2 separate regions of the Homo sapiens genome follow, and region 1 is linked to region 2. The links are contacts of gene promoters, found by promoter capture Hi-C in human tissues and cell types (Jung and others, 2019). All regions are on one chromosome and are shown on one strand. The core of a region is centred on a gene start or on the middle of the fragment in contact, and the rest is flanking DNA. Distances in the headings are between cores, read along the strand shown. Region 1 overlaps RYK (receptor like tyrosine kinase). Region 2 holds the start of RAB6B (RAB6B, member RAS oncogene family).

Region 1 (2,734 bases), core at 207-2,706, 290 kb before region 2:
TTTATGCAGGCATATGGCTTATTTCCTATTACTGGTAGATTTGCAAGACTTTAAAAAATACTAGAATTTTAATTACTTACAACAGATGCTTGTGAAAGCTTAAATAGTTCTGAATTAAGAGCTGGGTGCAGTGGCTCACAATTGTAATCCCAATGCTTTGGGAGGCTAAGGCAGGAGGATTGCTTGAGTCCATAAGTTCAAGATCGGCCTGGGCGATATAGCAAGACCCCCCGTCTCTACAAAAAAAAAAAAAAAAAGTAGCTGGGTGTGGTAGCATATACCTGTAGTCCCAGCTACTCAGGAGGATGAGGCAGGAGGATTGCTTGAGCCCAGGAATTCAAGGCTGCAGTGACCCCTGATCATGCCACTGTACTCCAGCCTAGGTGACAGAGCAAGATCCTGTTTTAATTTTTAAAAATGATGATAATAATTCTGAGGTAAGTCTTATTTGCTTATCTAGAGAGAAAGAAAAATGTGATAATTTATAGGGTGCTTAATGTCTATCAGGTCTGATGTAAATTGAGAAGACATGCTAATAATATCTAAAAACAAATTTAGCACTTTCCCTTCAGAAACTGAAGGGAAGATTAAATTCAGTTTTATGAGTAGAAAGTGATAAAATTTTATACAGTTTATGAAGTTAATTTATAAGAACTGTTTCTAAATTTACTTAAAGGAATACATGGAAAGTATGAAGGGTTTATGTTTATTGGTTGTAAAAAGTTGGGTTATACCAATCTAACAAAAAATCTTTGGAATTGCTTTTAATTGAACAAAATTGTTTGTTTAAGGCTGCTACAAATACATCCATACACACACACCTCTTTAATATTTTCTAAACAAGTGGTTTAATTTACTATATCATTCAATATTTATTTTATTCATTCACCCCTTCCCAGCACCAAAAACACTTTTAAAGGGTAATATTTATGTGTTAGGTCCATCCTTTCGGCTAAGACCAAGTGTAAGTTAGGTCCCAGTAGGTTTTCTGACTAGGAGAGTTTACATATTACTTTTTGTAAATGTAAAATTTGAACTATAAGGTTATTAAACAACAGCCTTTTGTTACTCTTTTCTCATTTTTTTTTTAAGGAAACTCCTTAATTCAAATATTTCTTCCGGGGTTTGTAAGTATTCTATAGACTGTGTAGAACTGGGCTATTATTGACTTGTTCTGAATTAAGGAAGGAGGTTTTTATACAAAATTGGGTTGATTTAGGGTTGGAAGGGGAGATAAAAGGAAATAATAGTGATAAGAAAACACAATGAGTATACTTGGACTGTTTCACAAGATAAGACTTCTCTTTCCGTATATGCTTGACTTGTAGTCACTGGTTGTTTCTGTGCTTTACCACTGTAATTATAATGTTCTCTGTGAGCTGTGCGGAAATAAGAGAAAGCACAGTGAGTCCTTATGGGGGACAGAGGGGAAGTGCATTGCCTCAAATTTGTTAGAGAGATAGCGCCACATGACTGTCTCTGAGATTGATTATTTTGGAATGCTGTTTTTATGGTTTTAGTTGTAGCCACATAGAGCTGACCAAGGTCTTTCACAAATCTGTATGCTTTGTTACATGTTGCACAATTAGAAGTTTAGCATAAAATAAAAAAACAGTGTTTTAGAAAGCACTGACCTTTGCCTTTAGGCATAAGCAGAAAATTGGAGTTTGGCTTTTAAAAATATTCATAATTTTATACAGAGACTTCATAGATACTCCAGTATAAATTTCCAGAGATTGAAATTAGCAACCCGAATCTTACACACTAAATATTGTGAAATTGAATTCCATAAAATAAATGAATCAGTTTGGATTTACTGGTATTAAGTTCTTATTTTCTTTATTATAGCTACTAAATTTTTATAGTTTTGTAAATAAGCAAGTGTTTGTTTTTAAAAATCATTTTGTGCATCCTTGTAACTTTTAGAATATATTTAATAGTACCCTTTTCAAATGTGTACATCTTGAAGATAGACCTTTCATTATGTAATTAAAAGACTAGGATGAGACTGGGAAAGGAATCCAAGAAAACGAGTTTTTCTTACTAAATGGATAAAGTTATTTTATCTTTAATTGAGTTTTCTTAGATCATCATTCAAGTGTCCTTTGCTTTAATAGAACATGCTTATCAAAATAAAAACTTGAAAAAAGTAAGTATAAAATGACACATTCTGAAATTACCATTTGTTGTACTTAGATCTCCTTACCAGTTGAGGGAATGGTAAAAGTCTTTTTAACTGGGCAGGGACCTCCAACTATTACTAGTTTTCAGTCTTGAAAAGATCCTACTAGCCTCCAGTAGTCCTGGCCATAATTTCATTAGAAATTATTTAGGTTATAGAAAGAGTAATAAAGGCACATTTTGCTATTTACTAAGAAATCCCACAAGCAGTTTGTAGACACTTAGAGTTTATTCCAGCAGACATTGATATGAAGCACCTTTTCCAAAGAAGTACCGAATGTTTCAGATCCTTGGCTTTTTGTCTACCCATTTTACATTCCTACAAAAGTCTTAACTAAGAGAAGTTGCTTGGAAAGGGGACACTTAGTAGCAAGTAATGGAAGTGAAGCAAGACGAAGTGAAGCAGGAATGAGATTCCAATGGGTAGATGTGGAAGTAAATGAAATTTGAGATTTCTCAGCTTTGACAGTTCCACATTTAAAGACCAAATGTGACAATCATAGTATCTGAATTCAGTGGGGTGGGTTTTATTGTTGGTTCAGCATTTTCCTAG
Region 2 (2,700 bases), core at 201-2,700:
GAGAGCAGGAGCCCCAGAGAAGTGGGTGGGTGTCTGGAGGGTTACCCTGAGCCTGGTGCCAGCCACAACGGGGCAGATATTCTAGGTGATGACTTACAATCCCTGGGGTTCCAAACTAAAGGTAATTATGAGAATAGGACAGTTATTTTGATTTGAGTTCTAGATGTTCATTCAAACATTCAACAACTATTTCTTAAACTCTGAGCTATGTCCTTGGGATGCAGTGGTGGAGCTTCAACTACTGCTTTTATGGAACTTGTGGTCAGGTTTCTAACAAGAAATAGGAAAGAGATTCGAGGTGAGCACACCAGGGAGACAGATAGGCTTGCCCAAGCAAGCCCCATAAGTCAAAAAGGGGGTAACAAGTGTCCACGAGAAATCTGGAGGTGAAGGTTGTGTCTCACTCCTCTTTCTCTTTCTATAACACATGCGTGCACACACCATCGTGTTCACCGACATGCAGATTATTATCTCAAATAAATGCTCACTGAACAGCCATAAATGAACAAGACCACGCTGTGGCAGAACAGTAAGGGACAGCTTTGTAAAACCTCAATTAACCAGCATGCCTTAGGCTCGGGCTGTCTTGGGAGTGTTTCTAGCACTTGGCGTCTGCTCTTTGCTCTCACTCACTCACAACTTGGTCTGTGTGCCTCGATGGACCAGGCAAGTAGAGGCCAAGGAGAGGTCGCCCACATGTCCTCAGATAGCTCATTGTCCAGATACACCTAATTGCCAGGGTGGGGAGTGGCATTGTCAGCCTGGCGACCCCGGGATCAAGAAACGCAGGGCACTGTCCTGGAGATAGTGGCACTGGCATTCAGAGCGTCACCGTTCCTTCTCTCCCATGGGGCAGGTTAGGATTTGGCATAAAATGATCCAAATGAGCAGCTGGTTTGAGGTAGGCGCGCCTGATATTGGCAGCTCCTCTCTCGCTGGCCAGGTCTGCGGGGGCACCCACAGACTCCACAAGAGGCCGCCCAAATAAAGGGTCTAGGCCTCGAGAGGGAAGGGCGGGCTAGAAGCCACGGGGGGCAAGAGTCGAGCCCCATCTGCGCCAAGTACGCCAGGTTTCCCTAGGTCTGACCGCCCTGACGGGCCTCGCCACACCCTGGCTCTCCCCCACCTTCGTTCCTTTCCGCCCTGTCGGTCGGACGACTGCGCTGTGCATCGGTGTCTCGCGAGGTGGAGGAAGGGACTGGCATCTAGGTTTAAAAGACCAGAAACAAATGTCCCCTGACAATTTCTGTCATTTTCTGGATTCAAAAGAGGGGTAGAGTGGGGAAGACAGACGCAGCGGGGCAGCGAGACACGGTCCCCCCCGGGGGGCTCTCAGGGGTACGGCGAGGAGGTTCTCTCCTGCCCGGGTGCGGGCTCGGGTGGGCGGGCGCACGCCCCCCAGCCCCGCAGCCCCGCGGGCCCCGCATGACATCAGAGGCTGGGGAGCGCACAGAGCGCAGGCGCCGGCGGAGGAGGCAGGCGGGAGGGGGCCGACTGGCGCGGCTCTGGAGAGCGCTCCTCCGCCCCGCGCGCCGTCCCTGCGCCCCGCTCCGCCCGCGCCTCTCTCCCAGCGCCGCGCCTCGGGCGTAAAGAGCGCGCCCCTCGCACCGCAGCCAGTGCCGACCGCAGCAGCCCAGCCCCAGCCTTCCTCCGCCTCCGCCTCTCTCTCCTCCTCCTCCTCCGCCGCCGGACACGCAGCCGCAGGCCGGGACCGGGACGCAGCTGGGGAGTCAGGGACGCGCGCAGCCAGCCCTTCCCCCTCCGGCTCCCGCACCGCCGGCCGCCTCCCCTCGCCCTCCTACTCTCCCCTCCCTGCTCCTTCGCTTTTTCCTCCTCCTCCTCTCCCGGCCCCGGCTGCCAGCACCATGTCCGCAGGGGGAGATTTTGGGAATCCACTGAGAAAATTCAAGTTGGTGTTCTTGGGGGAGCAGAGCGGTAAGTACCCGGCTTAATCTCTTGGCTTGTCGCCGAGTCGACCCCCGCCGCCCAATCGCCCACCCCATTGGGACCCCCGGCCCAGGCTCGGAAAGGCCCCTCCTTGCCAGGGTAGAGGAGAGGGACAGGGATGGGGAGGTCGGGGCGGGGTCGGGCTGGGGAGGGGCCAAGGGTGAGGACGGAGGAGGCGCTGGAGCCTGGGGTGGAGGTGAGGGTGGGCTCTGGGTGGGGGGCCCGGGGTGTGGGTGCAGGTGCGGCGCTGCAGGGGGCCCGGAGGGCGGCGGCTGGCTCCGCGGCGCTGGCCAGGGCGTGAAGGAACCGGGCTCGCTGGCTAGCTCACACTGCGGCACCGGCTGCGGGCGACCGCGCAGGTGGCTGGGTGCTGGCGGGGGTGGGGAGAGCGACGGGCGCCCCCCTTGGAGAACGAAGCGAAGCTGGGGTCTGGCCGGGCCTCACTCCGCTGCACTGGAGGGGTGTTCCCTGCGGACCCTGCTGGGAACCATGCGAAAGGGCACGTCCAGGGCGTGGGACAAACAGCCACCGGGGAGAAAAGAGCGACACCTGTCTCTGCTCGAAAGAGCGAGTGCAGGCCATGGGGGAACGGGGAGCCTACCTCCCCTGGCTCACGTCCGACTGGGCACAGAAGGTTCTAGACCCGCTGCCCTTCGCCGGCGCTTGTTAGTCTCCTTGCTGCCCAGGGATCTGGGCAATTGCAGTGAGGGCTACCCCAACTCGAGGCGATTTGGGGAATGATACAGGGGCACC

What was found. The method cuts DNA at HindIII sites, captures the fragments that hold promoters and counts their contacts. A contact is called where the count stands out against the background at its distance.
Region 1: a contact is called between a fragment that was not itself captured here and the fragment with the promoter of RAB6B in region 2, in 2 of the 25 tissues and cell types used here (aorta and stomach).

What each region holds. Positions count from the first base shown.
Region 1 is chr3:134,185,245-134,187,978 of GRCh38, reverse strand. The region is part of intron 9 of RYK (receptor like tyrosine kinase); the gene reads left to right. Among named protein-coding and RNA genes, the nearest start is that of RYK, 64 kb to the left of the region's middle. The HindIII fragment of the contact is 4,811 bases long and covers 1-2,734 here.
Region 2 is chr3:133,894,632-133,897,331 of GRCh38, reverse strand. It overlaps RAB6B (RAB6B, member RAS oncogene family), which reads left to right and starts at 1,450. Exons shown (of 8, transcript NM_016577.4): 1 at 1,450-1,935. The coding sequence starts at 1,866. RefSeq lists a silencer at 1,431-1,480. The HindIII fragment of the contact is 14,643 bases long and covers 1-2,700 here.